Linked DNA regions of Homo sapiens: region 2 is linked to region 1. Evidence: promoter capture Hi-C in 16 types of primary human blood cells and fetal thymus (Javierre and others, 2016). All regions are on one chromosome and are shown on one strand. The core of a region is centred on a gene start or on the middle of the fragment in contact, and the rest is flanking DNA. Distances in the headings are between cores, read along the strand shown.

Region 1 (4,591 bases), core at 1,141-3,640:
GACTTCAGGGACAGCACCAGGCCCAGAATAGGGGTAGCCCCCACCTCCAACCCCAACTGTGTCATCAAGGAGGCTAGACCCACCCCTCCACCCTACTTCTGCCCCAGGCTAGAATGTAGAGGTGGGAGGAAGTCAGGGAAGCAAGACACAGGTGGAGCCAGGGCCTCTCCTGTGCTCGGAGGGCCAGGAAGGGCCTGACAGAGGGCAGAGCCCCACCCTCTTACACGGAGACCACCCTGCAGCCCTTTATCTGGGGGCCAAGGAAGAGGCTTGCCCAGTGTCTTTGCTGGAGAAACTTCCCTATCACCCAATCCCACTCCCCACACTTCACCTCTGACTCCAAAACTGCCTCCTCTTAGAAGCCCCCCTGGAGCGCACCTCCCCTGCTGGTTGGTTCTAGCTGACCAGTTGGTTTAGCCGGCTGTGGGCTCCTGGGGGCAAGGGAAGGAGTTGTCCAGGCTCAGAAGAAAAGGGTGGTAGGACCTCCTAAAGGGACAGCAGATGCCAGGAGAGGGCCGCAAAGGCACAGCGTTGGAACCAGAGGGTTCCTACCAAGTTGACAACTCCAAAAGAGCATGGTGGTCCCCCAAGGACCAGAGCTCCCCCAATCCCAGACTGGGAATTCGGAGGCCACATGTGGTGCTGCACTGGGGGGCCATGCCAGAAGACGAGGTTCTGGATCCAATTCTGAGGACAACTGACTGTCTCTCTGTACCTCAGTGTCCCCATCTGCACCATCCGTATAATGGGAAAGGGGTTTGAGGAGCTGTCTCAGGGCCCCTCCTGTACAGACAGGAGGCCCTAGTGGCACTGTCCTTATTTCCATCCCTCGCCTAGACCTGGGGCCATGGTACCAGTACACAGTGCTCACCCTCCTGCTCAGACAAACAGTAACGGCCAGAAGCTCCAAGCCTCCTGCCCCAGCCCAAGGTGACTTTCCTGGCAGAACCTGGGACTGCCCTGCCCTGCCCTGCCTCCACCCAGCTCCCGGGCAAGCAGTGCCAGGAGGAAGTGTCAGCAGCTCCTCCCCAAAGCTCTTTTCCCCACAGCCCCGCCACCCCCGTACCTGGGCCCCGATTCTCCAGGCACCCCGACACCTGCTCTCACAGGCCGGCCAGCCCCCACCACCCAACTCTCCACCGAGGGAAAGGAATGGGCACAAGAGGGGGCGTGTCCCGGCCCAGGGCGATGGGAAACATCTCACTAGCAAAGAAGAGATCAACCCATGGTCATTCTGAGAAGGTGACCAAAGCTGCGGCGGGCCCCGGGAGGGGTGTGGGAAAGGAAACCAGGGACTCTCAGGAGGGAACGGGAGCCTTGTGGTAGAAAAGGAGCTGCTGTCCCCGATCTGGAACTCGAAACCCCAACATCTTCCAGGCCGTAAGCCCCTCACCCCGCACCCCTAGGCAAATCTCCGCTTTCCCAACTCCCTCACCTCGGTCCAGCGATCAGCCTCTCGGACCCTCGAGAGGGAGCTCCGACCCTGCTCTAGCTCTTGCGGGTCCCCCAACCATGGACTCCAAAGCCTTCATGTCCACACTGCAGAACCCGGCCCTGGCCCCCTCCCGCGACACTCGCGTGCGGCTAGGACTCCTGTGGCCAGGACCCGGCTTCCACCGGCGCTCGGCGTGCGGGGCTGCAAAGCCCGCGGCGCGCCCGCCCCCACTCCCGCTCCGCTCCCGGAACCCCGCGCCGGCGGCCGGAGTGAATCATTAACTGGAGCCGGGTGCTCCGGCTGCGCAGCCTTCCCCGCTGGCGCCACGCACTTGCCCGCCCGGCCTCGGTCCCCCGGAGCTCCTCCCTCTCCGGGAGCCGGTGGGCAGTCCCCACGCCACACCAGCCGGACCACCCGCCAGAGGCTCAACGGCCCCTCCTCGCAGCCGAGGAAACTGAGGCTCGGAGGCAGGGCGCAGAGGCCCAAGGTGACACAGCAGGCGGCCGTCGGCCGGGGAGCGCGGGCCCCGCCAGCCACTTTCCCGACACAGGAACCCTCCTACCGGCTGGCGGCCCCCGCGCCCGGCCCCGCCAACGCACCCGAGGCGCACAGGCTCCGGAGCCCCCGCGGTTCCTGCCTCCCGGCTTCCCGGCCAGGGCAGAAGGAGATCCCAGGGCCGCGGACCCCGGCCGGCGGTTCCCAGGCCCCGCAGGTCCGGCAGGAAATGCCGCTCGCTTAACCCCTTCCAGCCCGCTGCCGCCTCCAAGCCCGTACGCGGCCCGGCCCCACCTGGCGCCCTCACCAGGTGGTTCATGGTGTCCGGCGGGCCTGGGGCCCCGGCTCTCGCGGGGGCGCACACCGAGCTGCCCGGGCCGCGTGCCCTCGGGGCTCCGAGCGCGCCGCAGCCGCCCCGGTGCCGCCGCGCAGCTGCCGCCTCGGCCACCCAGAGCCGGTCCAGCCGCTCTCCGCCTGCCGCCACGGCCCAGCCGGCCCAGCCCGATCCCAGCATGCCCGGCCGCGCGCGCCCATTGGCCGCCGCCGCTCTCCATGCAAATAAGCCGCCTGTCGGGGGCGCGGGCGCGCAGACAGAAGCCCGCCCAGTAGGGGCCGCCCCCCGCCCCGCCCCCCACCTCCAACCCCGAGGCTCCAGGCCCCTGCCCGAGGCCAGGCTTCCAGCCTAGGGCGCAGGACACCGCTCTCCAACAAATGCACGTCCCCGCCTTCCACCCAGGCGAGAACGCACCGAAGGCCTACGCAAACTCCTCCACTTCTGGGAAGGCTGCCCGGTTTGCCTTCTTCCTCCAGAGCCGAGACATGGCCTCAAGTCGACTTGTCTTTCCCGCTAACCAACCCCAGGGCATTCATCGCGTGTCCATGGGCCGTGGGACTCAAATCTGAATCTAGAGGGAAAGGGGAGGGGGCGTGCCCCAGCCTGTAGGAGACGAATCATCACCACCACAGCTCCGACTGTAGACGGTCCCACCGTGTAAGGACCCCAGGAAATGAAGCCTCAAGCAGGGAGGCTGGCGAGCTCTCGACCCAGCGCTTTTCACGGGCAGCACCTACCTTCCCCTGCATTGTGCCGACATCTGGGGACTCGGGCTGGTCCTCCAGCTGATCTGCCTCCTCTCATTACTCATTCCTAGGTTCAGCCTAAAACCTGGGCCTAGTACCCTCCTGAGTCCTGCTCCAACTCATCTGCTTCAGCGACATGGGGTAGGAGAGCGGCACTGGGGGAATGAGGGAGATAGAAGGAAGAATCACTCGGGGGAAACCGAGTGGAGACAACCTTGGCTCTCCTGAGTTGCCCCTTGCTCGGTTGCAGGTCAGTGACTGTCACCCCATGCAGCAGAACCAGGGTGCCAGAGCCCCTGGGCCAGGCCAGGGAGGCACAATCTGCAGGGAGATGATAGGACCGAGCCTGGTCCAGACCAGACAGGACCCTCAGTCAACAATCCTGGGCCACTGGCTGAGCAATGGGATGCCACGAGGCAGCCCTGGTGGCAGGGAAGCAGCGGGGTAGACCCGGCTTCACGCAGCAGAGAATTCTCAAGCATGGCCTATGGAAGACACAAGCCCAGGTGGGCCTGCAGCTGCCCCTCTGTCTGACCCCCAGGGCTCAGCCTACGCAGCGCCTGGCCAGATGTGCCACCTTGGCAGGCCCTCTCCCCTCTCTGGGCTCCTTTCTCATCTGAAAAGGGGCTAGGACAGCCCATGATTTGCTGCTCAGGTGCTCTGGGGAGCTAGTTAAAAAACAGACTCCTGTGTCCCACCCCTCCCAAAAAACTGGACGTCTGCATTTCTTCAATATTTGGCTTGGGAAGCATTGGCCAGAACTCACAGCACAGCGGGTGAGGAAGGAGCAGTGGGATGAGACAGAGCATGACCCAGAGTCCTCAGGAGGAACAGAACAGCTAGCCAACACCCTGTGCCTCCCCGACACAGCCCGCCTCGCCTCAGAAGAGGAGCCAGCCTTCAGGGAAGCTGCCTGGAGCATCTCCTCCTGCTTGTTCCCAAGAGCTGTGCCGGGCCCCTCCTGCACCCTGACCCTGTCCAGCCACCCACTCCTCAGCCTGGCTGGCACACCAGCTTCCCAGAGAGCAGGTCTGAACCAGCGGGACCCTCAGGAGCCTGAGGTCATCCCTGGGCCTCCACTTCTGTGGGGAGGGGAGACCAGGCCTCATGGGCAGGCAGTGCCCTGCTGGCAGGGCCCCAGGCAGCAGTCTCTGCAGGGACGGGCAAGGACACAAAAGGCCTGGCCCTCAAGGGAGCTGGCCCCTGCTCCATCCTAGTTGGCCAAGGAGGGCGGTGCAGAGAGGAGGTGGATGGCTGGAACCTTGGGGGATGAGACCCTCCTCCCCCAGTAGCTGCATTAGAACAGCACTGGGGGTGGGGCTGCTGGTGTGAGCAGGAGGCAGCAAGGGAAACAGGCTCCGACACAGGCATTTCAAAAATTTGCTCCTTTTCCACTTAAATTCCCTCCCCCAAAAGCCTGTGCCTCCCAGAATGGCATTTCCGCTTTGGAAACAAGGCCCCAGAAGTTAAGCCCCACAGTGTTGATGGGGATGTAGCTGGGGGGTGGGGGAGGAGCACCCACTGGCCAGGCTCTGGCCGGGGTATATGGGGGCAGAACCTCACCCCACCCCCAGTCCAGCC
Region 2 (4,591 bases), core at 871-3,370, 38 kb after region 1:
AGGAGGGAGAGAGGCCCCAAGGAGGGGCTCTGTCGTGCGACCCTGCTGGACTTCTCCATCCCAGTTTCCTTGCTGGAGTCAACTTGCCTGTGCACAAAGATTGCATCTGGTAGTATTTTTGGACTTAAGTTGCTCTAGGAGGGCATAAATAAAAGCAATAGTAAAAAAGACTTAGCAGGCTGGCTCACAACGACTGCTTGAGCTCAGGAGTTGGAGACCAGCCTGAGCAACATGGTGAAGCCCCGTCTCTACCAAAAATATAAAACTTAGCCAGGCGTGGTGGTGCATGCCTGTAGTCCCAGCACTCAAGAGGCTGAGGTGGGGGGACTGCTTAAGCCCAGGGAGGCTGAGGCTGCAGTGAGCTGAGATCACCCCACTGTATTCCAGCCTGGGCGACAGAGCGAGACCCTGTCTCAAAAAAAGAAGAAGCAGAAGAGGCCAAGATGGGAATCTCCAGCCCAGAGAAGGCGGGGCAGGGGAGTGGCACTCAATGTCCCTGAGTTGCTGAACCTCCCACACACCAAGTGGCTGCAGTCATCTGGGCACCTCCTCCCTTCACTCCCTAACCCCAGGCAGTGTCTCAAAGAGGGCAACACCCTCCACTCAGAAATGCTCAGCACAGAAACGTGACCATGGAGCAGAGCTTAGACATGGGTGACACCCGGCCACCAGGCCTGTCTGAAGCAGGGCTTAAGTCCTAGGTAAGGACTTCTCAGCAGTACCCCCTCTCCCCTGCAAAGAGTGGGTCAGAAGCTGCCCTAGACTGGGCGGTACCAGAGCTGAGGCCAGGGTGCCCACATCTCAGTGAACTCTTGACACAAAAATTCGGTACCAGAAGGCAGCTCTTCATCTGCAAGAACCTTCTCAACCTTTGGTTTTTCTGTCTCCTTGCCCTCGGGTCTTTCCTTCCCAACATGGCGCTGGGATCCAGGGGGTGATGAGAGGCTGTTCAATCTTGCTGCCTCCTACATCCTGCCCTCCAGCCATGCCATGTGGGTGCGGCCCTGGCTGTGTTACCAGATGACCTCAGGCAAGTTTCCTCCTCTGAAAGGGCAGAGGATCTAACAAGATAGCATGTCAGGAAGCATCTGGCATGCAGGACCAACCGATCGTTCGCTGATGAAGCTAAAAGCTTCTGATCCTTCCCAGGAACCCACCATTCTCAGCCCAATTCCTGTTTGTTCACCTGTACTTTTTGGTAATTAAAAAAGTCCTAAGTCTCACCCAACATGCCTGAGCAATTCCAGATCTGGCTAAGGACTGATACCAAAAAGCAGAAGACTGATCTTGAGAGCCTGTTCTAGCCCTTTCTACCACCCCGTGTCAGACCGCAGACCACATCACACCACACCATGTTAACTACGCCACACCACATACTCCCATCTCACCACACCAACCACATCGCCTCTGTTCTGCTGCCACGAGGCAGCATGGCACCTGGAGAGCCTGTCACCGGCCTTCCTGGTCCCTGCCAGGGTGCCAGAAGCACCATCACTCCACTCCTGCCCAGGACGTCTCCTGGCCTTCGCGGTGCCAGCCACTCAGCTAACCTGCACTGCCCAGTTCTGAAGTCAGGTGCCAGCTAAGTGTCTGTCAGGCCTTAGTCCAGTACCTCCATATGGATGCTGACAGTGTACAGCTCACTCAGGATTTCCTTCTTAATGTGTCCCGTTTTGCCCCTAGAGACCTTATGCAGACTTCCTAATTAGAGCACTGCATTCCTCAGGAAATAGGTGAGCAGAGCACATCAAGAGGCTTATTTTACTTTTGACATTATCCTGTTTTAGGGCAGTTTTTTTCAGTAATGAGAAGGTACCAGATGCCCTGGAAATCTGACACACCCATTTGGGACTTGGAGAGGACAAGAGCAAGGCCAGGAAAGTCAACTCCAGGGGAGTCTCTGGACTCCACAGGACCAGCTAAGAAGGTGTCCTTGGACTGTCCTTGTCAGCCATTCACACCACAGCAGGGGACAAGCACTATGCCCTGCAGAAGGCTGCCAAACACCTCTTAGCACTGACTCACTCTTTCCACTTCCCACTTCCTGCAAACAGTTTCCTTGACAATTTCCAACTCCTGGATAAAGGGACATCACTTCCTTTGGGAGTTAGATGAGTTTTCACTAAATGTGGATGTGAGAGCTAGATAAAATATTAGTCACTTGTTCTTAAAAATTGTGGGCAGGATAGTGTCTGTCATGGTTCAAATCAGACTTGTAATTTTAAAAAAGGTGATTTTTTTGTTTGTTTGTTTTTGAGACAGGGTCTTGCTCTGTCGCCCAGGCTGGAGAGCAAGGGTGCAATCACAGCTTACTGCAACCTTGACTCCCTGGGCTCAAGTGATCCTCCCACCTCAGTCTCCCAAGTAGCTGGGATCACAGCCATGCACCACTATGTCCAGCTAATTTTTAAATTTTTTGCAGAGATAGGGTCTCGCTGTATGTTGCCCAGGCTGGTCTCAAACTCCTGGCCTCAAGCGATCTGCCTGCCTCAGCCTCTCAAAGTACTGGGATTACAGGCGTGAGCCACTGTGCCTGGCCGAAAAGGTGATTCTTGATTGAGGGCAAACACACTTTAATTAGTCCCACCCACCAGCCTGGTCTCGGTGGGTCCACTGAGAAAGGCTAGGCATTTGCTGAGGAGGCTCAGTCCTCTGAGCATGAGGTAGGAAGAGGATGGGACAGGTAGCAATGCTGGCTGAGAAGGTAGGTCCCACTGAGGGCACAGATGGGCTCAGGCAGCACAGATGACCGAGAGGAATACCCAAGAGTGGTCCATCCCCGTCTTAGGCACCCCCATGGACACCCACCTGCTTGGTCCTCTGCCTGGGTCACTGGCTGGTGCCAAAGGCCTGCTCCATTCTGCAGCCACAGCACCCAGCCCATGGGGATGGTCAGGCAGGGCTTGAGAAGACTCCTGCCTCCTGGGGCCTGGCTTACACCTACAAGAAACAGCCACCCATTTGTAGATACCCACTGCTAATGCCTAAGGACCCTCTCTTGCTGGCCAGTTCTCCTGTCCCTTGAACTTGATCCACAACAGTAAGGAGTAAAAACAAAGGGCCAGAGGAGGCCCTTCAGAGTCTGGGAAGATGAGGTGTCAGAATCTGCAAAGCTTGGTTTCCAAGTTGTTAAAACAGGCATAGTTAAGACCAGCCTGGGCAACACAGTGAATGCCCATCTCTACAAAAAATTACAAAGTTAGCTGGGTGCAGTGGTGTATACCTGTGGTCCTAGCTGCTTGGGAGGCTGAGATGAAAGGATCTCTTGAGCCCAAGAGGTTGAGGCTACAGTGAACCATGATCATGCCACTGCACTAATTGGGCAACAGAGCAAGACCCTGTCTCAAAAAAAAAAAAAAAAGAAGAAAGAAAGAAAAGAAAAACAGGCACAGGATCTTAGGAGGTAGAGAGGACCTCCTTCCTGTACCAGGGTCCCCTCTACCACACTCATGGCCATTGTAATCCCAACACTTTGGAAGGCCAAGGTGGGTGGTTCACCTGAGGTCAGGAGTTTGAGACTAGCCTGACCAACATGGTGAAACCCCATCTCTACTAAAAATACAAAAATTAGCCAGACGTGGTTGTGTAATCCAGCCAGGATTACACGCCTGTAATCCCAGCAACTTGGGAGGCTGAGGCAGGAAAATCACTTGAATCCAAGAGGTGGAGGCTGCAGTGAGCCAAGGTTGCACCACTGCACTCCAGCCAGGGCAACAAAGTGAGACTCCATCTCAAAAAAAAAAAAAAATTGTCAGAGGCTCTAAGGAAGGACTTTGATGTGCTCAGGCTGTTCTAGGAGAGTGTGGGCAGTCCCCCAGGGCTCACCTCCCCACCCTGCCTTGCCTGTTTTCCATGACACTCACTTTTCCAGCCTTCCCTACAGCTAGAGGCAGTTCAATGACCCAGCTATGGCCAGTGAGACATAAATGAAAGTCTGATATGAACCCTCATTGTAAGATGACACAGGTATACATAATACATACATACAGATGCACATGTATCAGTCAGAGTAAGTGGTTTATCAGTGAGATGAAGTGAGGTCAGTACAGGAGGCTTTTAAAGAGGTTCCATGTAGACCAAGAGAGTGACAGCTAAAGTCAAGGCAACCAGCACAGTTTAAAGTGGGAAAGTGTGAGACTCCGAAGCACGGATCTACAAATTGGGAAACAGGGCACCTGTAATAGGATCGATGCAAATAGCCATGTATTCCCTGACAGGCAGCCAGAATCTGTCAAAAAAGACTAGACTAGAGGGGCTTTCTAAAAGACTCATGGAGAGGTAATGGGTGATTGTGTGGAGGTCAGATGTGGGCAGCAACCCTGCTGGGAAAAGGGGCACCAATCAACAGACAGCAGAAAGGAACCGACCTTTCTCCAGAATCATGACATTAACTTAACACAGGTACAGATGGAGAAAACCTGTGGCGGGGGGCTGGATCCTGAACAAGAAAGGCAGGGCCCAAGCACACAGTTACGACTTTCACTGACACATCTGACTTCTCCTTTCATGGCTTGGAGCAAAACAGGAATAGCAAACCCACCTGTGAGAAGAACCCAGCAGGCTTTGCAGCTTTTGTCTTAATCCCTTAGGC

Evidence for each region. The method cuts DNA at HindIII sites, captures the fragments that hold promoters and counts their contacts. A CHiCAGO score of 5 or more calls a contact.
Region 2: a contact is called between a fragment that was not itself captured here and the fragment with the promoter of BCAR1 in region 1, in 4 of 17 cell types (endothelial precursors, M2 macrophages, M1 macrophages and 1 more). The highest score is 12.7, in endothelial precursors.

What each region holds. Positions count from the first base shown.
Region 1 is chr16:75,249,234-75,253,824 of GRCh38, forward strand. BCAR1 (BCAR1 scaffold protein, Cas family member) reads right to left here and starts at 2,391. Exons shown (of 7, transcript NM_014567.5): 1 at 2,238-2,391. The coding sequence starts at 2,249. RefSeq lists silencers at 2,274-2,433, 2,494-2,603 and enhancers at 2,603-3,143, 3,684-4,224, 4,225-4,591. The HindIII fragment of the contact is 27,287 bases long and covers 1-4,591 here.
Region 2 is chr16:75,287,364-75,291,954 of GRCh38, forward strand. No RefSeq gene overlaps it. Among named protein-coding and RNA genes, the nearest start is that of BCAR1, 38 kb to the left of the region's middle. The HindIII fragment of the contact is 1,981 bases long and covers 1,131-3,111 here.